2 separate regions of the Homo sapiens genome follow, and region 2 is linked to region 1. Evidence: promoter capture Hi-C in human tissues and cell types (Jung and others, 2019). All regions are on one chromosome and are shown on one strand. Each heading gives the region's core, a stretch centred on a gene start or on the middle of the fragment in contact. The rest is flanking DNA. Distances are from core to core; before and after follow the strand shown.

The links. Contacts are between HindIII fragments. The study calls those that stand out against the background at their distance.
Region 2: a contact is called between a fragment that was not itself captured here and the fragment with the promoter of SLCO1C1 in region 1, in 2 of the 25 tissues and cell types used here (liver and thymus).

The regions. Positions count from the first base shown.
Region 1 is chr12:20,693,312-20,700,518 of GRCh38, reverse strand. SLCO1C1 (solute carrier organic anion transporter family member 1C1) reads right to left here and starts at 5,187. Exons shown (of 15, transcript NM_017435.5): 1 at 4,712-5,187; 2 at 814-967. The coding sequence starts at 942. The HindIII fragment of the contact is 14,433 bases long and covers 331-7,207 here.
Region 2 is chr12:20,781,706-20,789,120 of GRCh38, reverse strand. No RefSeq gene overlaps it. Among named protein-coding and RNA genes, the nearest start is that of SLCO1B3, 25 kb to the left of the region's middle. The HindIII fragment of the contact is 3,191 bases long and covers 122-3,312 here.

The DNA of each region.
Region 1 (7,207 bases), core at 3,938-6,437:
TACGTATGTAACAAACCTGCACGTGTGCACATGTACCCTAGAACTTAAAGTATAATAATTAAAAAATAATTAAAAAAAAGAAACTTCTATCACTAAATAGCAAAGAAAAATAGCATGATTTTAACAATGGGCAAATAATCTAAATAGACATTACTTAAAAGAAGGCATGGCCAACAGGTATATGAAAAAGGTGCTCAACATCACTAGTCATTATGGAGATGCAAATAAAAATCTTTATGACATATCACTTCACATCTGTTGGCTATAACAAAAAATAAAAACTGGTTAGAATGTAAAGAAAAGGGAATCTTTGTACATGGTTAGTGGTTACATAAGTTGATGTAGTCTCTTTGGAAAATATAATAGTATGGAGGTTCCTCAAAAAACTAAAAACTATTGTTTGATACAACAATCCTAAAAAAAAAAAAAAGCAACTCTTCTCCCTACTCTGTAACATTATTCCCATTTTTATTTGCAAAATGGGAGTAATGTGATGTTTCACAAATTAAATGTTATATCTGTGCTTGGCTTAATATCTGGCACATGGCAGAAGTTCAATAAATACTAGTTTCTACTATTTCTCTCTTTTCTGTTTGGGGGGGCATTTAAATGAGCCCAGGAAAGTAATTTAACCCACATGGTCAGGTAGAGATTGCTTGCACCGCCTGGCAAGGTGTGGTTTTAGTAAATTGCATCTAAGATCTTTTTTTTTTTTTAAAGGAGAAAACAATTCTCATTCTAACTTCATTATATAGATGATATCTGGACAGAAAACTAAGAGCATCAACACTATTTACTTCTTGGTTGCTCTACCTTTAGTTCACCACAGCATGGTTGCTTTTCTTCTGAGGAGGGATATTCTGTTTTAAAAGAAGGCCTTCCAACAGGTTGCACTGAAGTTTTGCAGAACAACTGGATATTTTCTTTGGATGAAGTGTCCATTATAAACACATTCCTTGACTCTGATCTGTCAAAGTTAGTTTTTAAAGTAAAAATAAATAAATACTACGCAATTTATTAAATTTTTTTATTCAACAGTATACCACAATTCTATAGACGCAATTTAAAGTGAATCTACCTTTTGTTGTCACAGTAAGTTGGCAAATGTTTTCAATTAAAATCAACCAGGATATCTGATTAACTAATCCTGCTATTGGAACTCTGTAGCCAGCATTCTTTCTCAATCTGCCCAGTTTAAGCCTCATTATGGCAAAGAATAAATTTAAGTGTTGCCTTTGGAATAAATAATGAGGCAGAATTTTGCTAACTTTGTGGTCTTGCCAGTTTAAACTAGGAGCAAGCAGGAAAGGAAGAAGAGGAATTCAACTATTTGAATATTGATTCATTAGGATAAAGTCTTTAAAGCCTTTAAATCTATCTTCTTAGCAAAACAAATAGAAGTTTTACATTCATTATAGGTCCCTGTACCACCTTATGATTCCTGTAGCACCCAATGTGAGCCTTAAAATATGACAAAAAAGAAGAGGTCCAATTTGTGTATTGTTTTTGTTTGATAAATAAGGGAGCAACATGATTTGTGCCTTAGATTTAATTCAGGTGAAAGAACAGTCTTTGATCAGCCTTAAAGTAAAAAAGACAGCCTTGCTTCCCATGCTCAATTTCCCACCGCCCCTCACAGGACAGGATCACACACTGAACCTATTTTCTCCCTGTTCACATCAATATTTACATATCCTGTGCCCCTACTTCTTTAGGATTCCACATGGCTCAGTGCCTGCCTGATAATCTAACCTAAATCAAGGAATTCAACAAACAAAGTATTTCTCAATCTCCCTAATATTATCAGATGACCCAATTGTACATTAATAGAGGACTTCTATATCCACATAATAGGAGTGGAATAATGTTATTCCTAAAGGAATAATGTTAGGAGTCAAATTTCATGTATTGTGGCAGAAATCTATTCTGACTGAGTATATCACCTTGACTTTATGCAATGCTTGTTTTGTGTTCACTAAACCTCATCCCTCACCATTTCAATTCATACTTTCTCAAACTGAAAAATCAAGTAATAGTATAAACGATTTGCTTTGTATTAATAATATGAAGTTAAAACATCAGAGGACTTCAACAATTTAAAAATTAAGTGGATTCCTCTAGGGAGTGGGAATTGACTAAAGGAAAGGATGAGACAAGGGTCTGGTTTCAAAAAAATTATTATTAGGCTTTTGGATTCATTTTATAAGCATTCATAACTTTAATTTTTTAATTGAAAAAGAAGAGTGAGTGAAAGAGAAAAATTTAAAAACAAAAAATAAGCAAAACAAAGAGCTAATAATGTTAATCAAGACAAAAAACAAAGATATAAATACATAATATTAATGAGATAAAACACAGATATTTAGGAGTATAAAACATAAAAAGATGCATCGAATGTTGAAGTAAGTTTAATATCTTGACTTAATGGATAAGTTTCTAGCAAATATTCATTACCTATATTGATAAAAACCAGAAGAGAAAATAGCCAAGAAAGACATTATCAAAAATACTCTGAAACTATTCCCTAAACAAAGATACTAAGGATAGATGATGCACCAGAAGTGCTTTATCAAGGGATATTCTTTGAGGAAAGATAGCCGATAATGGAAACAGATAATCATTGTCTCCATTAGTTTGACAAAAATAACATTATCTTGGTAACAAAACAGCACAAAGATAGCACAGAAAGGAAAACTTCAGATCAAGCCCATAGATTATAAAAATTCTAAGTAAATGCTAGCAAATCCAAATTAACTCTTGCTCTATGATTAGAATTATTCTAAAAGATGCAACAATTGGTTAATTACAGGAAATTTATTCACCTAAATTACCACATGAATAATTCAAAATAAAAAATAGAATTTCATTACATGAAAAACATCAGTTGATAAAATTCGACATCTATTACTGATTTAAAAAACAAAGTTTAAGAAATGAAGAATATAGAGATTCTTCCTTAACAGTATCTGATACCAACAGCCAACTTCCTATATCTACTGAGTCACTAGGACTACTTTTCTAGAACAGTATTTTGCCAGGACAAGGAAAACAGGGTTTGGGAAATGCAGAGTTATACAATGTTAAATAGGTATCTTTACTACAAAACTATGAGTAAAAATATTGCCAAGCAAGAGATATACAAACCAGAAAGGTTTTAAAATAAGAAACGGATAATTATTAAATTTCTGGCTTAAATTGCAATATTCTTCAAAGGATTAAATTATATAATTCAAATTGGCCTTCTGTTTTTGGGGATTCAGATATCATATTATTTCTCATCAGTCATAATATTAAAGTCAGTGACCAGAAAATACAAATAAATTGTTTAATAATAAAATCTGCTATCATTTATCCTAAATTTATCTTTAAAAGATCCAAAGTGTTACATCTAGAATGCTAATGTCAAAGAGAAAAAATAATTATGTTAAAAACACTACTGAAAAACTTGAGATACTATAGCACATTTTAAGTTATCTAATATATGGAGGTGTTGACACAAAAATCACTGTAACTAAAATTCAAAAGTATAATGAAATATAAATATAGTCATCTCAGTTCACTTTGTGTTAGGGCAAAATAGGATCCAGCTTAAACTATTGGCACTGCATAGCTTTACTGAAGTGTCTTGATGGTTAATGCGCAAATTATTGCAAGTGTAGTATGTTCCAAGGAGGCTACAGTTCATCCCCTGTAAAAAGAGAGGGAAGGAAGCTCAATGACATGAACGGAAAGATCCTTGGGGCCTGCAGGCTCTCTCTCTTCATTTGCAACTGCAGAAGTAGAGCAAGAGTACACAGTTATTCAGAATTATTTGCATTTGGCAAATCCTTAATTGATCTCTGGCCACTTGAATAGATTCTTCCAGGAAAAGACATACGACAGTTTTCATCCAATACCCTGGGTTTGGAGCATAACTTATTCTGGAGGCCAAAGAAAAACAAGCCAAGCAGTTTCTCTTCCTTTGGTTCAAAAACATTGAATAATCAGTCCTCATTAGTTTCAAAATCAGCCCTCCAGATTTTAAATGGAGAGAGCAAGTGGCTTAGGAAGGTTGTAGTTAGATCCCGCAGATGTACTCAACCCCTCTGCTCTGCAACTGACTCGGACTCTGTCCAGCAATCAGTCCCCAAGGACTGCCACAGAGAAAGTCCTAAAGGCAACCACGCTCCTCCCTCTCTTCTCTTGGCCATCTCCTGTGAGGAAAACCTCTGTCCTGGCTTGACTTCTGGACACCAGGATGCCTCCCTTCAGACAAACTAAAAAATAGCCTCACGGCACTTGCTGCAGAGGAGTGTGTGTTGTTTAGAAACTAATTTCTCACCTAATACAAATTATCTGTGTCAGATTCAGATTTAATAAGTACTATTTTTGTGTTGAGTAATGTACGTACTTTTTCTAATCCTTAAAACAACCCAACAAACGTAATATTAGAATTCCATTTTTTAAATTAGATGGCCCAAAGCAATTAAGTGACTTGTCAAAAGCTAAACAATTTATAAGCATGAGACTCAAAATTTGAACTCAAATTTGAGTTTATCTGATTTCTTTAACCAATCTTCTCTCTTATTTCCATCAAACTAATGAGGGGATCATCACCTTTCACTGATATTTTTATGGATAAAACATAAATCGCACAGAAATTAAGGGTTAATCTCCCATAAGAATCTGATGTATTAGTCACAAAATATAAAATGAGAGAACCAAGTCTTACCTGGAGGAAGAGATCAAAGATAGCCAGTTCCTTTCAATGTGCTCAGCAAGAGGATGGACCACACACCACAGACTGAAAGAGGAAACTGAGGTAAACTCCACAGCAATTTTGAACAATTTTGCCAGGTGGGGAGAGTGTGGGTGGACACAAGCAGAGGAGATTAGGGAAAAGAAAAGATGAAGGGCATGGTCTCACCCCTGAGCGATCTCTTCTCTTTCCTCTTTCTTCCTGGCCTCTTTTTTCTGGCAGTCAGCAGAGAATTGGCCACGCTGGCAAGGCCACTGACGTGCATCTCAGCTCCCAGGGCACAGAAAGAGCTGAAGCTTTTGAGCCATTTCTTTGCAATTTGCTGCAAGTTTAAGGCCACACGTGATAAAGCTTTCTTTATGGGAGAGAGTGAATAAAAGAAAAGACCACTTGTGATCTTACTTGCTGATTCCCAGAAAACACAACTCCGCAGGGGGCAGAGGGTAAGGAACAGAAGCCAGAGGAGGGCGGAAGTTTATAACAGAGACCCCTCCTCCTTCCAGAAAGTTTTTAAGCCAACTATTCCTTAGGGACATCACTGGGATCCTTGTGTTTTCTTTGTTTGTGTGTTTTGGTTTTGGTTTGTTTTGTTTTGTCTTTAACGGTTCTTGGGCTAATTTGCTACATGGTTTTCTTTTCCATTGGTGTTCTAGAATCTTTAAGGACCAAGTATCAGGTCACAATCAAAGCTCTGCAGCGCTCTGTACAAAAAGAGTTAATTCTCAGAGACATGATCAGTTGCTCATATTTACAATTTCTATGAGTTTTGAAAACAGAAAAGAAACACGTTGAATTTTTGGCATTCAATTGTTTATTCTGCCTAATTCCAAGGATAAATAAATCCTTGCACTGAGAAAGTCCACAATTCTAATACATTCTTTTTCCAAGAGAAAAACTTTAGAGGATCTTAAGCAGTAGTAGTTTGCATTTATTTTCTACCAATAAATAAATTTGCTACCAGAATTATCCAAGATTCACCCTACTCTTAAGTGGCTGAGACTCTGGGATGGTCACTTAATTTTACTGAGTCTCAACTTCTTCCTTTGTAAAGCAGAATTTTTTTGTTTAAAAAAAAAAAAAACAGATTTATAGGGCTGTTTTAAGGATTAAATTATATAATGTATTCAAAAGCACATTGCAAATGAGCGGAAGGTATCATCATTTTATATATATATATATTTAGTTCACATAATGGTCAGAATAGTTAATATTATTCAAGCACATTTTACTACAAAAGAAAGAAAAGAAAATGCAAGAAAAATGGGTTTATATTAAACCTTGCAATGAAGCAATGGTGTTTTCACACTCTGAAAGGCCAAATATTTTACTTTAACAATCAAACCAGACTTTTCCATCGGAAATAGTGAGCAAACATCCGAATACATTGAGTGTTAGTCTAGACTTCTCAGTGTCTAACAGGTGGCCAGACCACTGTTTTATTCAAGAGGAGACAGTATTTACCAGCCCAAAGGGCATAATTTTCCTCACCAAGAAATGAAATTCTCCCTTGAGAATGTAATTTTGTCTATTCCCAACTGGCTCAGTCTCACTCTCCAACACGATTCCTTTTCTTATTTCCAGAGTCCACAGTTAATGTTACTGTTTTGAATGCACATAATGTTTACACTTATTCAGAGCTTCTTATGTGCAACCTTGCATTGGATTGTAGCCTACTTCAGCCTTTCATTCCCATTTCCAAACTCTAGATGAGGGAGTTAACAAACTTCTATAAAGGGACAAATAAGAAATATTTTAGGTTTTGTAGGACCATGCAATCTCTATCACAACCACTCACCTCTGCCATTCTGGTGGTAAATTAACCACAGACAACATATAAATGAATGCATTTCCTAAGACTGCACTAACAAAGTACTACAAGCTGAGTGACCTAAAACAGAACTTTATTGTCTCACACTTTTGGAGGCCAGAAGTCAAAAATCAAGGTGTCAGCAGAGCCATGCTCCCTCTGAGACCTGTAGGGAAGAATCCTCCTTACCTCTTCCACCTCCTGGTGTTTGCTGACAGCCTGAACTCCTTGTTTTATAGGTGTATCACTCCAACAGCTGCTTCTGTTACCACATGGCCATCTTCTCCCTTTATGTCTCTGTCCTCTGTACTTAAAAAAACGCTAGTCATCTTTGGCTGGGGACCACCCTCATGACCTCATCTTAACTTGATAAGGTCTGCTAAGACTCTCTTTTCAGGAAAGGTGACATTCACAGGTACCGGGGGTTAGGACTTCCTCATATCTTTTTGGGAGACACAATTCAAGCCAGTACACTCATATTTTCATTTTCCTCCTTACTTGAATTTTTTCATGCAATTATTTTAATCACTTCCTTCTGTATACCCTCAATTCTCCTGTTTCTCTTTCAATTTATTGATCTTCCCAGGCAAAGCTCACCTCAGATAAATCCACTTTCTTTCTTCTTAGTATTTGCATCCGCACTGTTTTAAGTGATTGAAGAA
Region 2 (7,415 bases), core at 468-2,967, 92 kb before region 1:
AAAGTTTATTCAAAGGGAAAAAATCATAGAACTTTCCAAACATTGTGAAAGATATCAACATACAAATACAAGAAGGTTATAGAACACCAAGCAGATTCAACCCAAAGAAGATTACCTCAAGGCATTTCATAAGCAAACTGTCAAAGGTCAAGGAAAAAGAAAGGATCCTAAAAGCATCAAGAGAAATGAAACAAATAACATACAATGGAGTTCCAATATTTCTTTCAGCAGACTTTTCAGTGGAAACTTTACAGGTCAGGAGAGAATGGTATGACATATTTAAAGTGCTTAAAGAAAAAACATTTACCTTAGAATAGTATGTCCAGTGAAAATATACTGTAAGTATGAAAAAACCCAAAGACCTTCCCAAAGAAATGAAAGCTGAGGGATTTCATCAACACCAGACCTGTCCTACAAGAAATGCTAATAGGAGTTATTCATGCTAAAAGAAAAATGTGTCAATGAGCAAGAAGATATCATCAGAAGGTAAAAAAATCACTGGTACTAGTAAACAGATAGAAAATCATAGATTAGTATAACACTGTAATTGTGATATGTAAGTTTCTCGACTTAAATAGAAAGACTAAATGATGAATGAATAAAAAATGATAACTACAACATTTCAACACATAGACAGTAGCATAAGACATAAAGAGAAACAACAAAAAGTTAAAAATTGGGAAGACAAAGTTAAAGTGTAGAATTTTTATTAGTTTCCTCTCTACATGTTTGTTTGTTTATCTAATCAGTGTTATGTTTTCATCAGTTTAAATAATGGGTTATAAGATAGGATCTGTAAGCTTCATGTTAAACTCAAATGAAAAAACATACAACAGATACACAAAAAATAAAAAGCAAGAAATTAGTGTGTACCACCAATGAAAATTACCTTTACTAAAAGGAAGATAGGAAGGAAGAAAAGAAGGGAAGACCACATAGCAATCAGAAAATAAATAATAAAATGATAGGAGTAAGTCCTTACTCATCAATAATAGCATTGAATGTAAATGAACTAAACTCTCCAATCAAAACACATAAAGTGGCTGAATGGATGAAAGAACAATACCTAATGACCTGTGTCCTACAGGAAATACACTTCACCTATGAAGATACACATAGATTGAAAATAAAAGGGTAGAAAAAGATATTACATGTCAATGGAATCCAAAAAAAGAGCAGGATTATCTATACTTGTATCAGACAAAATAGATTTCAAGACAAGAACTGTAAGAAGAGACAAAGAAGGTAATTATGTATTAATAAGGGGGTCAATTCTTTAAGAGGATATAATGATTATAAATATATATGCACGAAACACTGAAGCATCCAAATCTATAAGGAAAATATTATTAGAGCTAAAGAGAGAGTTAGACACCAATACAATAACAGCTGGAGACTTCAATGCCTCACTTTCAGCATTGAGCAGATCTCCCAGAAAGAAAATCAACAAAGAAATATTGGACTTAATCTGCACTATAGAATAAATGGACCTAGTAGATATTTACAGAACATTTTATCAAAGGGCTGCAGAATACACATTATTTTCTTCAAAACATGGTTCATTCTCAAGGATAGATTAGATGGTAGGTCACAAAACAAGTCTCAAAACATTCTAAAATTAAAATAATATCAAGCATCTTCTCTGTCCACAATGGAGTAAAAGTAGAAATCCACACAGCTACAGTTAACCTATTTTTGACAAAGATGCTCTATTAGTTCATTTTCACACTGCTGATAAAAACATACCAGAGACTGGGTAATTTATACAGGAAAGGGTTTAATGGACTTACAGTTCCACATGGCCGGGGAGGCCTCATAATCATGGCAGAAGGCAAGGAGAAGCAAGTCACATCTTACATGGGTGGTGGCCAGCAAAAAGAGAGAGCTTGTGCAGGGAAATTCCCATTTTTAAAACCATCAGATCTTGTGACATTCATTCACCATCACAGCTCTAGTAGTTGGTGTCCCAGTAGGGACTCTGTGTGAGGGCTCCAACCCCACATTTCCCTTTCACACTGCCCTAGCAGAGGTTCTCTATGAGGGTCCTACCTGCAGCAAACTTCTACCTGGACATCCAGGTGTTTCCATACATCTTCTGAAATCTAGGCAGAGGTTCCCAAACCCCAATTCTTGACTTCTGTGCACCTGCAGGCTCAATAGCATGTGAAAGCTGCCAAGGCTTGGGGATCGCACTTGCACCCTCTGAAGCTATGACCTGAGCTATGCCTTGACCCCTTTAGTCATGGCTGGAGCATCTGGAATACAGAGTATGAAGTCCCTAGAGTGCACACAGTAGGGAGGCCCTGGGCCCAGCCCATGAAACAATTTTTTCCTCCTAGGCCTTTGGGCCTGTGATGGGAGGAGCTACCTCAAAGGTCTCTGACATGCCCTTGAGACATTTTCCCCATTTTTTTTTGGAGATTAACATTTGACTCCTCATTACTTATGCAAATTTCTGCAGCTGGCTTGAATTTCTTCTCAGAAAATGGAATTTTCTTTTCTACTGCATTGTCAGGCTGCACATTTTCTGAACTTTTATGCTCTGTTTTGCTTTTGAAACTGAATGCCTTTAACAGCACCCAAGTCACATCTTGAATGCTTTGTTGCTTATAAATGTCTTCTGGCAGATACCCTAAATCATCTCTCTCAAGTTCAAAGTTGTACAAATCTCTAGGGCAGGAGCAAAATGCCACCAGTCTCTTTACTAAAACATAACAAGAGTCATCTTTGCTCCAGTTCCCAACAAGTTCCTCATCACCATCTGAGACCACCTCAGCCTGAATGTCATTGTCCATTTCATTTATCAGCCATCCAAGAAGTGTCTAGAGTGTTCCAAACTTTCCCACCTTTTCCTGTCTTCTGAGCCCTCCAAACTGTTCCATCCTCTGCCTTTTATACAGTTACAATGTCACTTCCACATATTCAGGTATCTTTTCAGCAGCGCTCCACTCTACTGGTACCAACTTACTGTATTAGTCCATTTCATACTGCTGATAAAAACATACCTGAGACTGGGAAATTCATATAGGTAAAAGGGTTTAATGGACTTACAGTTCCATATAGCTGGGGAGGTTTCATAATCATATTGGAAGGCAAGGAAAAGCAAGTCACATCTTAGATGGATGGTGGCAGACAAAAAGAGAGAGCTTATTTAGGGAAACTCTGTTTTTAAAACCATCAGATCTCATGCAACTTATTCACCATCACAAGAACAGCAGGTCACAGACCCATCCCCATGATTCAATCATTTCCTACTGGGTTTCTTCCACAGCATGTAGGAATTATGGGAGCTACAAGATGAGATTTGGGTGGAGACACAGAGCCAAAACACATCAGATGCCATGGAAATACAATGAGGAAAAGACAGTCTTTCCAATAAACTGTGCTGGGAAACCTGGCTATCCATATGCAAAAGAATGAAACTGGATCTCCATCTCCCTCCTTATATAAATATAAAATCAAAATGGATTAAAGATTTAAATCTAAGACCTTATACTATAAAACTAAAAAAAGAAAACAGTGGGAAACTCTCTGGGACATTAGTCTGGGCAAAAATTTCTTGAGTAATACCCCTCAAGCACAGACAACAAAAGCAAAAATGGACAAATGTGAACACATCAAGTTAAAAACTATCTGCACATCAAAGGAAACAATCAACAACGTGAACAGACAGCCCACAGAATGAGAGAAGTATTTGCAAGATACTCATCTGACAAGGGATTAATAGAATATATAAGGAGCTCAAATAACTCTATAGGAAAAAATCTAATAATTTGTTTTACAAATAAGCAGATTTGAGTAGACATTTCTCAAAAGAAGACATACAAATAGCACACAGGTATATGAAAAGGTGCTCAACATCACTGATCATCAGAGAAATGCAGATCAAAACTACAATGAGATATCACCACACCTCAGTTAAAATGGCTTTTATTGAAAAGTCAGGCAATAACAAATGCTAGTGAGGATGCGGAGAAAAGGGAACCCTCATACACTATTGGTGAAAGTGTAAATTAGTATAACCACTAAGGAGAACAGTTTGGCAGTTCCTTGGAACACTAAAAATAGAGCTAACATATGACCCAACAATCCCACTGTTTGGCCTGTTATACCCCAAAGAAAGGAAGTCAGTTGATAGAAGAGATACCTGTATTCCCACGTTTGTTGTAGCACTGTTAACAATAGCCAAGATTTGGAATCAACCCAAGTATCCATCAGCCAACAAATGGATTAAACGAATGTGGTACTTATACACAATAGAGTGCTACTCAGCCATACAAAAAGAATGAGATCCTATCATTTGCAATAACATGGATGAAACTAAAAGTCATTATGTTATGTGAAATAAGCCAGGCACAGAATGTCAAATATCACGTGTTCTCACTTATCTGTAGGACCTAAAAAATCAAAACCATTTGAACTGACAGAGATGGAGAATGGAAGGATGGTTACCAGAAGTTGGTGGGGAAGGGGGAAGCAATGAGTGAGGTGGCAATGTTTAATGGGTAGAAAAAAAATAAAAGAATCAAGATGACCTAGTGTTTGATAGCACAGTAGGGGACTATAGTCAATAATAATTTGATTGTACATTTTGAAATAACTAATGGATGGTATGTTAACACACATGATACATGTTTGAGAGGACAGATATTCCATTTTCCATGATGTGATTATCATGCATTGTATGCCTGTACCAAAATATCTCATGTACCCTATAAATTTATCTACCTACTAGGTACCCAAAAAATTAAAAATACTTTTTTTAAAAAAAGTATTGAGAGATGACAGCGTGCTGGCAGTCCTCACAGCCCTCGCTCACTCTCGGCACCTCCTCTGCCTGGGATCCCACTTTGGCAGCACTTGAGGAGTGCTTCAGCCCACCGCTGCACTGTGGGAGCCCCTTTCTGGGCTGGCCAAGGCTGGAGCTGGATCCCTCAGCTTGCAGGGAGGTGTGGAGGGAGAGGCGCGAGCGGGAACCGGGGCTGCATACAGTGCTTGCGGGCCAGCTGGAGTTCCAGGTAGTCATGGGCTTGGCGGGCCCTGCACTCAGAGCAGTCAGCCAGCCCTGCTGGCCCCAGGCAATGAGAGGCTTAGCACCCAGGCCAACAGCTGCAGAGGGTGTACTAGGTCCCCCAGCAGTGCCAGCCCACTGGCGCTGTGCTCGATTTCTCACCAGGCCTTAGCTGCCTTCCTGCAGGGCAGGGCTCAGGACCTGCAGCCTACCATGCCTGAGCCTCCCACCCACTCCATGGGCTCCTGTGTGGCCAGAGCCTCCCTGATGAGTGCCGCCCCCTGCTCCATGGTGCCCAGTCCCATCTACCACCCAAGAGTTGAGGAGTGCAGGCGCACAGCACGGGACTGGCAGGCAGCTCCACCTGCAACCCCAGTGCAAGATCCACTGGGTGAAGCCAGCTAGGCTCCTGAGTCTGGTGGGGACATGGAGAACCTTTATGTCTAGCCCAGGGATTGTAAATACACCAATCAGCACTCTGTATCTAGCTCAAGGTTTGTAAATACACCAATCAGTACCCTGTGTCTAGCTCAGGGTTTGTGAATGCACCAATTGACACTGTATCTGGCTATTCTGGTGGGGCCTTGGAGAACCTTTATGTCGACACTCTGTATCTAGCTAATCTAGTAAGGACATGGAGAACTTTTGTGTCTAGCTCAGGGATTGTAAACGCACCAATCAGCGCCCTGTCAAAACAGACCACTCAGCTCTACCAATCAGCAGGATGTAGGTGGGGCCAGATAAGAGAATAAAAGCAGGCTGCCCAAGCCAGCAGTGGCAACCCATTCAGGTCCCCTTCCACACTGTGGAAGCTTTGTTCTTTTGCTCTTTGCAATAAATCTTGCTACTGCTCACTCTTTGGGTCCACACTGCCTTTATGAGCTGTAACACTCACAGTGAAAGTCTGCAGCTTCACTCCTGAAGCCAGTGAGACCACAAGCCCACCAGGAAGAATGAACAACTCCAGACGCACCACCTTAAGAGCTGTAACACTCACCGCAAAGGCCTGCAGCTTCACTCCTGAGCCAGCGAGACCATGAACCCACCAGAAGGAAGAAACTCTGAACACATCTGAACATCAGAAAGAACAAACTCCGGACACACCACCTTTAAGAACTGTAACACTCACCGCAAAGGTCTGCGGCTTCATTCTTGAAGTCAATGAGACCAAGAACCCACCAATTCTGGACACATTTTGGCGACCACGAAGGGACTTTCACCTATTGCCAAGCGGTGAGACAATCGCCGAGCAGTGAGACCATCGCCTATTGCCGAGCAGTGAGACAATCGCCTATCGCCAAGCAGTGAGTACCATCAGACCCCTTTTGCTTGCTATTCTGTCCTGTTTTTCCTTAGAATTCAGGGGCTTAATACCGGGCACCTGTTGGCCAGTTAAAAGTGACTAGCGCGGCTGCCGGACTATAGACACGGGTGTCAGGCTTTCTGGGAAAGGGCTCTCTAACAACCCCCGACTCTTCAGAGTTGGGACTGTTGGTTTGCCTAGAACCAGCTTCCACTTTTCCTGTACTACTGGGCTGAGCCGAGGGTCAATAGAGAGGAAAGCCATGCAGCTCCGGGGTCCCAACAACATGTTGGTTGACCCTGTGGCCATGAGTGGAACTCTCAAAGGCATGTCGCCCAAGCGAGACTCTCCCATCTATCCTATCTATCCTGACCTTTGCCCCCTGGGTCCTAATGCCTGCCAGACAAACTTCCACTCGCCTCTCTTCTTTGAGGTTAGACCTGCTTCTAAAAATTGCTACCTGTCTCTGGTGCTTTTCTAGTTTCTCCTATAAGAATGATTTCTAGTATAAACTCCAGGACTCTGTTACCTTCTTTAGGCACCTGGGCTCACCAATCAGAAAGACATAATTTTTGCCCAAAGCCCCGTCATACCGGGGACTACCTGGAATTTAGGATCCCTTCTCAGACTAATAGGCCTAACAAAAGCTATTCCTGAAGCTAGGATGTGGGGAGCCTCAGAAATTGTATCCTTCCTATTCATATAAGTGAGGACAAAAGGTGTCACTCTTCCAACCCTGAAGATCCCTTCCCTCCCTCAGGGTATGGCCCTCCACTTCATTTTTGGGGCATAACATCTTTATAGGAAAAGAGTAAAGTCCCAATACTAACAGGAGAATGCTTAGGACTCTAACAGGTTTTCAAGAATGCATCAGTAAGGGCCACTAAATCCGATTTTCCTCAGTCAGTCCTCCTTGTGGTCTAGGAGGACAGGCAGAGGTGCAGGTTTTCGAGAATGCATCAGTAAGGACCACTAAATCCAACCTTCGTCAGTCCTCCTTGTGGTCTGGGAGGAAAACTGGTGTTTCTGCTGCTGCGTTGGTGAGCGTAACTATTCCGATCAGCAGGGTCCAGGGACCGTTGCAGGTTCTTAGGCAGGGGT